Regions from separate parts of the Homo sapiens genome. Here regions 2, 3 and 4 are each linked to region 1. Evidence: promoter capture Hi-C in human tissues and cell types (Jung and others, 2019). All regions are on one chromosome and are shown on one strand. Each heading gives the region's core, a stretch centred on a gene start or on the middle of the fragment in contact. The rest is flanking DNA. Distances are from core to core; before and after follow the strand shown.

Region 1 (3,705 bases), core at 635-3,134:
CCACACGCCCCAGGCTCCAGCCATGAGGAACCACTCAGTGTGTCAGAACAGGAGACAGTGTGACATCTTTGTGATCCAGCTCTGAGAAAAGATCCAAGGTGTTTTTCAGGCTTCTGAACACCCTGGAAAGATAGTATGCTTACATTTTGTTTAAAAAATTTAAAATGCAACTACTATATGCCAGGTCCTGTGTGGGCACTTTACATATGTTGATTTACTTTAATCCCTACAGCAATCCTATTACTATTTTAAAGCTGAGAGAGGGGAAGTGACTTGCCTTGGGATACATAGCTCAAAGGTGGTAGAGCCAAGATTCCAAAGTGCCTGATTCCTATTGTGTCTGACTCTAAAACACTATGTTCTTTCTGCTATGTTCATCCAGGTGGTGGAAAAATTCAGTCTAGGAGTAAAAAAAGGAAGATCAACATCCTGCAGAATGACTCATGCTATTCATTATAGAAGCAATTGCTGGAGATGCTATCATTGTGGATCACGGAAGTCTTCATGGAAGAGGTGGCATTTGAGCTGGGCCTTCACTGCAAAAAAAAAAAAAAAAAATTTCCTGATTCTCTGTCAGGCACTGGGGATCCAGAGATGAATCAGACAAAGTCCTTTTGCTTGAAGAATTCACAGTATTTTGTGTGTGTGTGGGAAGGAGGGTGGCTGCTTACATGTGTTAAAAGACAATGTGGCCAGGCCTGGTGGCTCATGCCTGTAATCCCAACACTTTGGGAGCCCGAGACTGGAGGATCGCTTGAGCCTGGGAGTTTGAGACTAGTCTGGGAAATATGGCCAGAACCCCATCTTTACAAAAAAATTTTAAAATTAGCTGGGCCTGGTGGCATGTGCCTGTATTCCCAGCTACTTAGGAGGGTGAGGTGGGAGGATCACTTGAGCCCAGGAGGTCGAGGCTGCAATGAGCCGTGATTTTGCCACTGCACTCCAGCCCGGGCGAAAGAATGAGGCACTGTTAAAAAAAATTAATAGAATAATCCAGACCCACGGTAGGGTCAAAATTCCTAACTCAAGGTCCCAGAGAGGCTCAGAGAAGCCTTTTGGAAGAAGGGACTCCTGCCCCAGCTAAGACTGATGGATAAGTAGCAAAGGCTTTCTGGGGACACAGCACAAACAGCCCACCTGAAGCGGTGAATCGGCGTCCTGGGTGCCTGGCACACCTTGTAGCTCAGCTTACTAGCTAGTGGAGTGCGAAGGGGCGTGTACTTGTCGGTTGGAGCTGGTCATGAAAGAGCTCGTGGGACTGCCCGACGGTTCTCAGGTCCCAGTGCATCCTGCGTGGTGGCTCTCTGCTGAACCATAAAGCATTCCTTTTCAATCCCTGCACGCTCACGCCGGGAAAAGACTGCACAAGGGGCCTGCCAAGGCAGACAAGCGATCGCCACCCAGCTGGCTTCCGAGGGTCCCCGCCCTCCACCGGAGGCCTGTTACCACGGCAACCAGTGAGGGCGGAAGTGGCTCAGAAGACCGGTTCTCCCTAATCAGGTGACTCTCCCGCCTCCTGCACGTGACACCGGAGCCCAGAAGCGCGCTCTACCTAATCAAGACCCCACCCCTCTTTCCCTTTACTGACAATTGACAGCGACCTCTTGCAATGGCCCTTCCGCCTCCACCAGGAGACTCTGCCCGTTGGTAGTAAAAGAACCAATTAGACTGGGAAAAAAAGAAGCAACGCCCCAGGTTTCACCCCGGCTTGACAGACGCAATTGAGGCCATCCTTGAGTCCCTCCGCCCCCAAGTCCAGTAATGCCAGCGATGGACAGACCTTCTACCCAATAGCACGCCCCTTTTCTGCCGTTGGGTCCCGCCCCCTTGAGGGCTAAGCCAATGAGCGCTCCGGGTCTCAGCGGGGTGGAGGGGTTGCACTGCGGTAATATGGCTCTTCCTTAGCCAGCGGCGGCAACGGCGGCAGCGGCGGCAGCGGCGGCGGCTACTGTCTGGGCTGAGCAGTAGTGCCTCTCGGGTGGCGGGTTTCTAGGCTGCAGGGGCTTGGTAGGTGGTGGCAAGGGGGCGGCGGCGGATGCCGGAAGAGTGCCCGCCCCGCCGCTTGGCGGCCCCTGGATCGAGATGAGCGCCTCCGCGTCGGTCGGGGGCCCCGTCCCCCAGCCACCCCCGGGCCCGGCCGCTGCTCTGCCTCCCGGTTCTGCCGCGCGGGCCCTGCATGTGGAGCTGCCGTCTCAGCAGGTAAGCCCGCGCGGCTCGCAGCACTCGGGAGGGACCCGGGCAGGCCCGCGTGGAGAGCTTGCTGGCTCCGGGCTGACCCCGCGAGCCGGGACACCCAGAGCAGGGACCCGGAGGGCTCGCGGGACTGAGGAAGACTGTCAGGAGGTTTGTGCGGGGAGGGGTCCAGTGATGGCCGAACCTCCGGGAGATCCCGGAGTCCTAGGAGAATCCCGTTACAGGAGATGGGCTTGTTAAGGGACAAGCAGCCAGCCAGCTCAAGTCCCTGGGGCCCCGGCCCGAGGCCGCCTCCCCCAACGCAGGGAGCCGGGGATTGCCCCGCGCAGACCCTCTCCCTCGTTCCGCCCAGGAAGGGACCCGGGGAACCCCCTGTGTCCCACGGGCCATAGTGAAAGCACTTTTCCTTTCTTTCCCCACCTGGCCATCCCCGCTTACGGAGAAACCAGTTTGTACTCTTCGTGCAAGAGCCCTGGAGGAGACTTTAGGGTGTCTACCATTTGCTTTAATCTCCCCTGATTATTAAGTATTCGGCCTCTTTAGAGAAATGTATTCAAGACTTGGGGGTTTCCTTCCTAATTCTCCGAGTCCCAAGGAACGCATCTTAATAATTAGGAGGACTTTTTCCTTCTTCATTCCCTTCAGTGAGTCTCTGTGGAAGGAGGATTTGATGTATATATTCATGTGTTCCTCCATCCTTTAGGAAGGGCTTTGAGGACTTCTTGGCTCTGCGTTGTAGGAAGATAAGAAGGGGGAAACACTGACTTTGGAGATGTGACAAAACTCTTTGTTTCACTCACATATCTGTAGAGTACTTCCCTCCTTATATCGGTTGCCTTCCTTCTGTCCCCCAAGGGGAGATTTTGCAGGAATCTTAGCATTAAAGAGACCTAAAGAATACCTTTCACCCTCTCCCTTTATTCCTCCTGCCAAGAAGAGGATCTAGAGAAACTGTCATTTACTGAGAACTTACCGTGTTGGATTTGTGCAAAGGGCTCAGTGGCCATTAGTTCACTGAATTTTCACAACTCTGTGAGATAGCTGTTTTTATTACCCCCATTTGGCAGTTGAGGAAACTGAGGCTTGTCCAGAGCCTTCCAGTTAGTAAGTGGTGGGGCTGGGTTGCAGAATCCAGTGTCTGACTCTGCAGCCATGCACGTGCTTGAGACTTGGGCAGCCTTCCTCCACCACCTTTACACAGGACAGAGTGAGTTCTTTCATACACCCCTCCAACTTTCCATCAGCTACCAGTGGGACTTAGGAAGGATTCAGAAAGAGGAAGGGAGAGGTTGTAGGGGAGAGAGTGGTTGAAAAGTGAAATGGATTTGAGTGCAGTAAAGGAGGCGGGGGCTAAAGGGAAGAGAAGAGTTGGAGATAATAACCACTGTGGTTGCCTTTGAATAGGCAGGCAGAAGAGCTTACAGTAGCAACGGCTTTTTGTGTGACTACTACCGAAGAGGATTGAAAAGATACCATGTGCCCTGGTTTTGTGATGCTGTTGGCAGGGAATTT
Region 2 (3,705 bases), core at 685-3,184, 390 kb after region 1:
CCCAGCCCCCATCCCACCAGCTCAGCCTGCGTCCCAGGCACCCACCAGGTGAGCATTCCAGGCCACTGGGCCATGTTGGCTTTCAGTTCCTGTGCCAAGTGCCCCTTTCATCTCCAGCTCACTCTCCAAAGCCCAGGCCAGCGGAGGCTCCTGGGTGAGTCCCCGGCTTTCCAGCCTCACTGAACACTTCCCTGCTCCCAGCTGTGCTGGGGCTCCCTGTGCCCAACAGTCCACAGAGCTAGGCAGCTTAACTCAAATCCTGCCTCTACTACCTCTGAGCTGTGACACCCTGCTAGGTAGAGTCCCCCATCTCTGTGTGCCCCAGTCTCTGTTTCCTCTTCTGTGCAACGGGGGTAATAGCAGCACCCACCTCACAGGGTGGTTGGGATATTTAAATGGAACAATATACATAAGGCACTTAGAACGGCACCTAGCACAAAGTGAGGCCATGTGTGTGTAGACATATATGTACATATACATAGATATATGCACGTGGCCTACACACGTGTATCTATATATACACATGCATACACAGATCGTTGTTATTCTTAAACTCCACCCCTTTTCCCACCTCCCCCTCTATCTTAAACTCTAGCAAGACTTTAATCCCCTATTGCTAGACTATCAGTTTCTCATAGGAGTGCAGTATGATCTAACTTACATGACCCAAGCTCTCGGAGCAGCGTCTGGGGCACTTAGGAGTAGGCTCTTGTGGTGCCTGGTTTCTCCAGGTCTCCCCGCATGCGCTGTTCGGCCTCCAGGCTTCTGCTCGTGCTGTGCCTCCCGCCTAGGACGCCTGCTTTGCACTCCGTCTCTGACCATCCAAATCCTCCCTGTCCTTCCAATCCTGGCCTATGCATCTCCCTTAGATAGAACTGATCACTCCTCCTCTGGGCTGCCATGCTCCCTCTGCTAGGACACAGACCATAGTCCACTTTGTATTTCTATATGTCCATCTCCCCCAAGAGCCTGGGGGCTTATTTAAGGCACACAATGAGTTGTACCCATTTCTGTGGCAGCCTGACTTTGCAGTGGGGACAGAGGACATGGACGTCAGGTTTAGCCAGCCGTCCATCCCACCACAGGCCAGCGTGGGGGCTTGCGTGCATCATGCCCTTTGCAGGGTCTCGGTGTTCCCACTGTGGAGCAGGGATGATGGCAGTGACCCCACAGGACTCTTATGGGCGGCAAATGACACCCAAGCCCACTGCAAGGCCTCTGACGCTCCTTCAGCCAATCCTCTCCTTCCCTGGACCTTAGTATCCTTATCTGTAAAATGGTGGCGGTGGATGAGAGAGCTTGGACTCGCTGATCGGAGGTCCCTGCCAGCTGGAACAGTGCTGGGTACCCCATTGCAAAAGGAAGGTGGCTGGTTTCTCACAGAACTCCTCAGGGACAGCTGGGAAAAGCTAGTGCCCAGGGCTGGGAGATTGCTGAGACCAGGCTTCTTGTAAACAAGAAAGGCAGGAAGACGGGGTTCCCTCCTCGAATCGTCAATTAATCAATAACTTGGCCTGAGAAGGGGCAGGGCCAGTGACCTCCAGACTGTTTGCTGGCGGCGCAGCCACTATCACCCTGTCTTCCAACTAATTCACAAACCCTTTGCAGCGCCCTCCCCAGCCCCCACAACCTGCCCCCTGCTGTCTTATCTGCAGGCTCCCTGCCCTGGCCCCAGATTCCAGACCCTTGTCCTGTCCTGGACTTTCCCTCTCAGGGAGCCCCTCTGCCCACAGCGTCCTCTCCATTGCCCGAACCAGCCAACTCCCAGCAGCGCTTCAGTCACCAGAGGCACAGCCTCGGAAAAGCTTCCCGGTGTCTCACATCTGTGTCCCCACCAGGTGGGCTTCCTTCCTCTAGGCCTCCAGATTCCCGCTCTGGTTTCTCCTCGGGCACTTGGACACTTGTGGAGTTATTTACAGCCTGGGCTTATCTCTCTCAACTTAGAGCGCAGCTCCTCCGGGAAGGGGCTGGTGTTTACTCCTCTCTTCACCACCCCCAGCCCCCTGAGCAGGCACTCCCTTCAGCTCGGCACCAAGCCTCTCTCTCCCTCCTACCCCTGCGTGAATAATTTCTATCTAAAGGAATGCCCTGCACATGTGCACAGTGGCATCTGACAGCTTCTGAGGTCCTTTCAGGAGCCTCTTCTCATCTGATTTGAGGGAGGTGGGGAGTCTCACCCTCCCGTGACAGAGGAGGACAAGGAGGCCCCAAGAAGTAGAGTGACACTTTCCCAAGGTCGCCCAGGTGGAGGGGTCAGGAGTGTCTCAGCGGAACTCCCGCTAGGGTCAAGGAGACTGACGGACAAGGACCGCTCCTGGGCTGGCCGCTCTGGATTGCGCCCCCTGAACAGAATGTCTTTTTCCATCTGCCCCTGCGGAGGTGGCCAGAAACTCCGTGGCCCTTGCGCCACCGTCAGCTGCACAGGACCAGGCGCTTCCATTGTGGTCCACGCCCGTCTCACTCCCTTTTCGCAAGCCTGCGGGAGGCAGGGACATTTTACAGAGGAGGAAACAGAGGCTGAGGGATGACTTGCCCACGACCGCCAAGCCAGCTTAGGCTCCCGGGTCTTGGTGCGCTCGCCCCATCCAGGGGACCCCAAAACGCCCTCCGCCGCCCCAGTCCCTGGCCTGTGCGCGTGGACGCGGGGTCCCTACTCACAGCCACTTGATGCCATAGCACACGCCGGTCTGGAGCGCCAGGGCGAAGAGCAGCGCCTCGCAGACCTGCGGCCGCGCCCTCATCGTCGCGCGGCGGGCGCGCCCGGGGTCACACCCAGGAGGAGCCGCGCCGAAGTCCTCCGCCTGCACGGCCGCCGCTGGTCCTGCACGCCGCCTGCAGCCGGGGAGAGCGGAGGCGGCGGGTTAAGGCGGCGCGCGGGCGGGGGAGGCGTTTTATTCAAATTACAAAGGAGGGGTCGGGGCCCGGGGAGGCCGAGCGCGGCGGGCGTCCCCTCCCGCTCCGCCCGGCCGGGGGACGCGTCCCGCGCCTGGCTCGAATTAGGCGCGGCCGAAGGCGTGTCTCCCAGCGTGGCCCCGGGCCCCAACGCGCCTTCGAGCCCCTCTGGCCGGGGCAGCCGGAAGGAGGGACAGGAGGCGGCAGAACCGGAGACCCAGGAGAGACCGGGCAGACACAGCGAGAGGGAGAAGGACGCTCAGAGGACAAGGCTGAGAGCCACGGAGACAGAGGGGGAAACCCGGACAGACGCAACCTGGGACGGAAAGGAGAGGAATGAGGAATCAGGAGTCCAGGCGAGGCAGCAGAGTCGAGGACCCGGAGCTGGGGCTTATCCCTGCAATATTGAGCATTAGTTAATAGGGCCTCGGCAATTCTCCTTCCCAAACGTGTTTCAGTTTACCTCCTCAGTAAGCTGGGGCAATTCGGGCACAATTCCGCTTTTATAAAGAACGTTCCCTGGCCGGGCAGGGTGGCTCACGCCTGTAATCCCAGCACTTTGGGAGGTCGAGGCGGGCGGGTCACCTGAGGTCAGGAGCTCGAGACCAGCCTGCCCAACATGGCAAAACCCCGTCTCTACTACGAATACAAAAAATTAGCCGGGCGTGGTGGCGGGCGCCTGTAATCCCAGCTACTCGGGAGGCTGAGGCAGGAGAACCGCTTGAACCCGGGAGGCGGAGGTTGCAGCGAGCGGAGATTGCGCCACTGCACTCTAGCCTGGGCGACAAGAGCGAAACTCCGTCTCAAACAAAC
Region 3 (3,705 bases), core at 304-2,803, 320 kb after region 1:
CTTTAGCTCCCTTCCAAGTCTAGTTTTTAAACTCTGAAAGCATTCTCTGACCAGGGTTTTAATTTCCCTATCGAGTTCCTTCTGGGGGCTGGGTTCTGTGAGATTGTTGTTCCTCTGGTTTCCCTGGCAAAGGCAGAGGTTTTGGGTTTTTTTGTTTTTTTTTTTCATTTTTTCCCTGGTTTTCAGCATAAACAGTTTATTATTCCCAAGTATCAAGTGTTGTCCAGATACTCCGAGGGGTCCCCAGGTATCATTCCTGGCATCTCTTTCCTGTTCTTTCCATGTTCTCGTGTAGGATGTTACTTAAGCCCTATATAAATGACATCAAGATGGGCTATGTCTGTTTCTACAGACCATTTTACAGTCCTCATAATGTTGGTTGCCTGACTGTGATTTTACTACATTAATTTGTATGATGATTTCTTAAAGTGAAAGCTGATGAGTGAAGTGGTTGACTTGACCCCTCCCAGGACCTCTCTTTATCTCCGTGGAGGATCACTGTGTATTCCCTGATCCCATGGAGCTCAGCCTGGAGCCTGAGCTGGCCTCCAGATGGGCTCTCGGCAATAGGCACCCCCTCATCCTCTGTCCACTGGCCCAAGCTGGGCCATGGAGGCCTGATGGCCAAGACCTCACATCACAAAGCCTGGTGAACTGGATTTCTTCAGCTTGCTTATTTTGTCTTTTGCCTGTGGAACTTTCTCTTTCACCAATTCATCTTTCCATCACTACTTGGTTTAAATAAAATCCAAAGGCTGCCTTGTTCAGTTATACCTTTTTATACTCTGTTTTTATTTAGACAGACTTTGGTAGGAAACCTTCCAAGCAAAGCCCCGGGGGAAAAGTGACCATTGGCACAGATTTCAGCCTGTGCTTTTGGCCCAATATTGTTTCTATTTTTATTTTGTTTCATGTTTTTGTTAACATCCAGGGCAAAGATTAAGTACTTACACTTATCTGGTAATGGTGAGAGGCCTTTGGATTGCTTGCCTGTGGCCTGGAGAATGCATGCTTAAAACTATTAACCCCCAGCTACCTCCTGGGAGATAAGATCTAGCTGTTAAATTTGGCTTTCCCTAAAGGAGGTTCTGAGCTCCTACTTGATCTGAGAGAGGGAAAGAAGAAGGATAAATCCCAACCTTTGCTGAATTTTGAAAAAAGGATAGTAGCTTAATTTATGAAGGTTGTTTTTTTGAAAAAACTAACTTTATGTCATAATTTCTTAGCTGCCAAAAGACGTAATTCTACCTCAGCTTTGCCTTGGCAACCCGCTTTTGGCACTCTGTGCAAGCCTGTCGTTGCTCTGCATTATTTAAGCAGTAATCTTTAAGAAGGTGAGAAACTATTATTGCTTTTTAACACAGTTGACATGATATTGGCGCAGACTAGTACCTAGAGCTTCAAACATTTCTGGTGGCCGTAAACCAACTTAAACACCTCCATGTAGAGGTCTCACTGCCATGAGGTCATAGATTGCTACAAGGAGGGAGAAAGAAGAAGATCAAATGTTGTTTAAAAGTCTTTTTTTTTCTTTTTAAATATTCTTATTCCACTGAGTTGTAGCTGTAGATTTTGGCCGGGAGCCAGACAATCAAGATTTAGTATTTTGACCAGCTGTGATCTAGTAATGTCCCTCAGAGGAAACATTTTGTAGGGAGGGAAAGACACATATTTGAGACTGTGAATTGTACTCTGTCCTCATACTTTACAGTGTGGGACCTGGTTGTAGACAGATAAAACAAGTACAAGTGAATCTGAAAGAGAATTAGGAAAAAAAAAAGTGTTTCAAATTGTTAAAGCCTCACCCCAGCTTCAAGAACTCTCTTGATGTGGTAAATCTTTACATGCTTTCTTTATTTCATTTTTCCTGTAAGTTTCCACATTTACATCAGTTCGTGGCAGAATTTATTTCTGCTCATAGCTGATGCTTAGAATGCCTAACAGTATAAGTCTTAGAAAGTCAAAAGAGCAACACAAACTTAATGTAGGCAGGAAGAGAAGAGAAGGAAAATATACCAATCCACTTAACCTAAAAATTTTTCTCATTCTCACCCCATCCTCAAGTAGAAGTAGAGATCAAATGTAGATGTTTTGGTGACAACAAAAAACTTAAGATCCTAGGGACTGGGAGAGAGAAGGAAATTAACAATTAGGTAGACCGGCTTGGTTAAATCACATCTTTCTACCTAGTGGCTTCATGACCTTTGGTCAAGTTACCTAACCTCTGTGCTTCAGTTTCTTCATCTGTAAAATGAGGATGATGTTTGTAATACTTCACAGAGATGTCATAAGGATTAAATGAGACCATGTATAAAGCTGTTAACAGAGTGCTTAATCCATAGCGCTTTATAAATTTTAGTTGCCGTTTTATTATTATTAATAATTTATTGGGTACTTATTCATTGTACTAGGAATTTTACTTGTATATCTCATTTAATCCTTACTGCAGTAACTATTGGTAGCTATAACCATTTCACAGAAGAGGACACCTAGGTTGGGAGCAGTGAGGTGCATCATCAGTGTCTCGTGTTTCCTAACGATGGAGCTACATGTGGAGCTCTGGAATATTACCTATGGGAGATGTGGAAATGGGAATCACATTTTGGACTGGTGCTTTCTTAACTTGTTTTCTCTTTCCCAATCTCTTTTCTGTAAAAGGAGGCTACAGCTTCAGGCAGTAAAACCAAGAGGAAGAGGAGGGAAATGATGGGGGCAAGGATGGTGGAGTAGAGGAAACTGGGCTCTACCAGTTCCTGGGTTGGCTTCATGGCAAGGTATTTGCATGGCAAGGTATTTATATAATGGTTATAAAAGTGCTGAATATGGTCTTCTTCATTTTAGTCAGAGAAATAGAGAATTTCTCCCTCTTAAAAAATTCTCTCTTCCTGAAGCTAAATTCATGCAGAACAAGGATGCATCAGGGGTTTGGGGACAATTGGAATGTACCTCAAAGGATTCTGGGAAGTTCTTCTAGTCCCTAAGCAGTAGGTAGATCATGAAAACAGAGGAATTTTGAGCATTTTGACTTTATTCAAAGCTTTCCCCACCTCATGTCCCCAAGAAAAAAAGAAAAAAACCTAAGATTGTGTTTCACATTGAACAGATTAAATCTGTTGATTGATTTGGGTCTTTTTCTCCAAATCTCTTTTATACTTTTTTTTTTCTTTTTTTCTTTTCTTTTTTTTTTTTTGAGACGGAGTCTCACTCTGTTGCCCAGGCTGGAGTGCAGTACTGCAATCTCGGTTCACGCAACCTCCACCTCCTGGGTTCAAGAGATTCTCCTGCTCTCCTGCCTCAGCCTCCCGTGCAGCTGGGATTACAGGTGCCCACCACTACACCGGGCTAATTTTTGTATTTTTAGTAGAGATGGGGTTTTGCCATGTTGGCCAGGCTGATCTCGAACTCCTGACCTCAGGTGATCCACCCACCTTGGCCTCCCAAAGTGCTGGGATTACAGGCATGAGCCACCACACCTGGCCTTTTTTTTTTTTTTTTTTGGTGGGCGGGGGAGTCTTACTTTCATCCAAGCTGGAATGCAGTAGCATGATCATAGCTCACTGCAAGCTCAACCTCCTGGGCTCCAGTGATCCTCCCACCTCAGCCTCCCTAAGTGCTGGGACTACAGACATAAGCCACCACGCCTGGCACTGTACTTCTTTATTTCCTTCTTGCAGCTAGCTCCCTGATGTACAGAAGTGGAGGTGT
Region 4 (3,705 bases), core at 486-2,985, 280 kb after region 1:
GGTGGAGAGTAGAATAGGAAGTTTCTCCATGTCTCCAGAACATTGCGTTTCCCTCCTTGTGTAAAACCATCATCCTTCTTTGAGCCTGTATAACTGCTCGACCCTCTGTCACACCTCGTCACTGTCATCAGGCATGCTCATGACTTCTCTGGGGCACCTGGAATTCAGAACCTTGCTTAAAATTTTCCTCTCTAGGCTGCTGCTCCTCTAGTAACCTACATTACTCTCTCTCCTCCCTGTCTCCACCAGGCCACACCACGTGCTGTTTCTCACGTTCTCTCGTGCTTCTGGGGATTTGCACATGCAGTTTCCTCTCTCTGGAATACTGTGCCTCCCTGCCCTTTCACTCACTGAAATCCAGCTAGTATGCCACAGTCCAGACAGGTTATCACTTCTTTTCTGAACCTTCTAGTCTCACTGAGACTTAGGTGTTCCTTCTCTGCGTTCCTGTATATTCCTCTGATGTGGTCCTTACTCATTTTTAATGTGTTCTTTACTCGTTTTTACTGTACTTATGTTTCTGATTTTTAAATGTCTTTCTATTATATTATGGAACTGCCTCTTCCTTATCTTTGTTACCTCATAGAAGGGGTTCAATATCTATTGATTGAATGAATATATGCTTCTAGGTGCTTGTCTTCTTTGGGCCTATACAAGACTGAAGGTGGAACAAAAAGAAATAGTGTTGTTACCATAGCTAGTTTATATAGCTAGTTGAAATTCTATTTGAAGTGTATATATTCATTCTGTTAAACATATATATGGATGAACTTAGGTTCAAAATGTAAGTCTACTCCTTACCGCCTATAGTTTTATATCCTCTACCTGATAACCCTGCCACTATCATTCCATTTTTGTTGTTCTATCCATTTTCTAACCCTATTACTTTAATCTACTTTCATCCACAGAAATTTGGCATTTCTTATCTTCAAAACGCTGTGGATCTTATCGTTCATCTCGGATGGTTTTTGTTTGTTTGTTTGTTTTTTTGTTTTTTTGGTGAGTCTTATCTCTTCTAGACACGCTTGAATCAGTTGAGATCCAAAATAGCAACATATAGTCTTAACTGAAAGAAGTTAGAAAGAAAAATTAATAATAAATTAAGTAGAAAAATAAGGTATAGCATTAATGGTTTAGTTTAAGAAACAGTGTCCTTAGGAATAGCTACTGAGGGAAAAGGAAGATAACTAACATTTGTAAGATACTTAGAACTCACAGACTGTGTCGGGAGTTTTCCAAAAATTACTTTAATTAATCCACACAATAATTCTGTCAAGCAGGTGTTGTTATATGAGCCAGAGGCTCAGGCGGGGGTAAGAGACTTGCCCAAGGTCATACAGAGAGTAACTCGCAAACCTAGATGCCAACCAAAGACCCTTTCATTTTGTTGTTCCTTCTCCTGTACCATCTCATATATTTTAAAATGGCTTTTTATTAGATTGTTTTTCAGTCAAGAATTTTTGGAGTTAGCTAGGAAGTTAATGTGTAAGTGGCAGTTTGAAGATAGAAGACCACATCATTGTTTAATAAGTGTGGCACAGTCCTTGGAAAAGCTGATTGATTTGATGGGGGTAGTTTTGTATCATAATGTGCTCAAAGATGAATAGCACAAAGAGTAATATTTAAATACCAAATGGAGCCCTCATTTACCAGATCCTTGATGGAAATTTTAATACACCTAAAACAAATTTATGCTGATTTTTTTCGTACCCCCAACACAGTTGTCCAAAATTGTTCATGCCTGCATAGGTGATTCACACATTATATAAAATTCATTTTCAAAGCACCTTATGCAAACAAAATTGTATTCCTGCTCTGTTGTTCGAAATTAAATAAAATGGTTCCTCAGCCAGTCCACTACTCCCAGACATGCATCCACACACGTTCATCATACATGCTTACCTGCCTCTGAACTTTGCTTAGAGTCTTTCTAAGTCTCCACTCACTGGCCTCCTTTCCCAGTTGTTAATGCATTCAGCTCATCTTCTTTCAGATAATGGCTTAGGTCCTAACACCTCAAGAAAGCTTTTCCAACAAGGATGTATTCATCAAATAAGGAAATGTGGATTTCACCCTTGCAATTTGCAGTGCAGTTCCCCCAAAAAAGTCTATTAACTACCACACACTTGGCATGATATTAGCTGCTGGGCATTTAACAGTAAGTAAAATAAATTCTCTGTCATTGAAGCATTTACAGTCGTCTTGTAGGTCTTGTGTAGGGATCATAGGAGCAAATTATTTTCTTGTTCTGTGCCTCCATTTTTTCATCTGTAATACGAGGAAAATAACAGTACCTGCTTTGTTAGGGTTCTTATGATAATTGAATGAATTAATATTTGTAAAGTACTTAAAACAGGGCCTAATCAATAGAAAATGCTTTATTTACTAAAACAAGACTAAACTTTGGAATAAGTGTTCTAGTTCTAAAAAGATCCTATTTGTATGTTAAGTAGGATTATAGTAAATGTATAGGTTAGTTTGTAGAGAAATGTCATCTTTATAGTAACAGGTCTTCCTATTCAAGAATAGGATATGAGTTTCCACTTACTAATATCTTCTTTTACATCCCTCAATAGAATATTAAAGTTTTCTTCATATAGATCTTGCTATTTTGGTTATGTTTATTTCCAGGTATTTTATCTTTGTTTCTGTTTAAAATAGCACCACGTAATATTCTAATTCATTGTTATTTATATAAAGGAAAATCATTGATTTTTGTTTTTCAATTTTGTATTGAAGTATTTTATTGTTTGTGATGAGTTTTCATTTGGTTTGCATGGACTTTCTAAATGTATAATCATATCTATTAAAAATGATCATTTGCCTCTTATTTTCCAATTTTTATAGCTCTAGACTTTTTTTCTTACCTAATTAGTATTAACTGATTATGGTAGTAGTGAACATCTCTGTCTTATGCTGTGATTTTTGACTTGTGACCATTATACTTGAAATGGATTATTATATATAATGTTACGCATTCCCAATTTGATAAACAAAATCACAATGTGTTTTTTAATTGTCCAGTCTGCTTTCCATAAGCTTAAACATCCAAATTTGGCTCTTACCCTGACAAAAATCTTCCAGAATATTTTAGAGAACTATAATCTATGGAGAACAAAAACTCACACTTCCAAAAGGAGATAAAGTCAGAAATGATTCTTCAGTGTTGCTAACCCTTTCCCCTGAGCACTTAAATTAGCCCCTGGGGAGTGTGTCCTAATATGTTTAATGTTCAAAATATCTGCTAACTAAAAACCTCTATACTATTGTTAAGGACTAACCCCATTGTGCCTGACACATAGTAGATACACAAAAATGTTTATTGGAAGTGTTGATGAAATTCCAGAAACTCTCTCCACTGGCTTACCTCATCTAAATATTACCTGTCCATCAGTGAACTGCTTAGGCCATGTTCTCCCCATGAATTCTCTCCTAATATCTTCAGGTAAAAGGTAGATATAATCTTTTTCACTTGAATTAGTTTTCTGTGCTTTATAACAAATTACCACAAATTTAGCAGTTTAAACAACATTCTTTAAAAGAAAAAACGTTTAGGGGTACATGTGCAGTTTTGTTATATAGGTAAATTCTTGTCACAGGAGTTTGATGTACACATTATTTCATGACCCAAGTATTAAGCCTAGTACCCAATAGTACTTTTTCTGTTCCTCTCCCTCCTTCCACCTTCCATCATCTGGTAGAACC

What was found. The method cuts DNA at HindIII sites, captures the fragments that hold promoters and counts their contacts. A contact is called where the count stands out against the background at its distance.
Region 2: a fragment that was not itself captured here is called in contact with the fragment with the promoter of UVRAG in region 1 in 1 of the 25 tissues and cell types used here (dorsolateral prefrontal cortex).
Region 3: a fragment that was not itself captured here is called in contact with the fragment with the promoter of UVRAG in region 1 in 1 of the 25 tissues and cell types used here (dorsolateral prefrontal cortex).
Region 4: a contact is called between a fragment that was not itself captured here and the fragment with the promoter of UVRAG in region 1, in 1 of the 25 tissues and cell types used here (dorsolateral prefrontal cortex).

The regions. Positions count from the first base shown.
Region 1 is chr11:75,813,326-75,817,030 of GRCh38, forward strand. UVRAG (UV radiation resistance associated) reads left to right here and starts at 1,885. Exons shown (of 15, transcript NM_003369.4): 1 at 1,885-2,199. The coding sequence starts at 2,083. UVRAG-DT (UVRAG divergent transcript) reads right to left here and starts at 1,472. Exons shown (of 2, transcript NR_144531.1): 1 at 1,138-1,472; 2 at 189-536. RefSeq lists enhancers at 1-1,195, 1,119-1,548, 1,419-1,713 and a silencer at 2,009-2,208. The HindIII fragment of the contact is 17,046 bases long and covers 1-3,705 here.
Region 2 is chr11:76,203,667-76,207,371 of GRCh38, forward strand. WNT11 (Wnt family member 11) reads right to left here and starts at 2,836. Exons shown (of 5, transcript NM_004626.3): 1 at 2,659-2,836. The coding sequence starts at 2,741. RefSeq lists a silencer at 2,749-2,988 and an enhancer at 3,293-3,705. The HindIII fragment of the contact is 7,202 bases long and covers 1-3,705 here.
Region 3 is chr11:76,130,782-76,134,486 of GRCh38, forward strand. All of the region lies in intron 14 of UVRAG (UV radiation resistance associated), which reads left to right. Among named protein-coding and RNA genes, the nearest start is that of WNT11, 74 kb to the right of the region's middle. The HindIII fragment of the contact is 7,935 bases long and covers 1-3,705 here.
Region 4 is chr11:76,097,078-76,100,782 of GRCh38, forward strand. The region is part of intron 13 of UVRAG (UV radiation resistance associated); the gene reads left to right. Among named protein-coding and RNA genes, the nearest start is that of WNT11, 110 kb to the right of the region's middle. The HindIII fragment of the contact is 3,716 bases long and covers 1-3,593 here.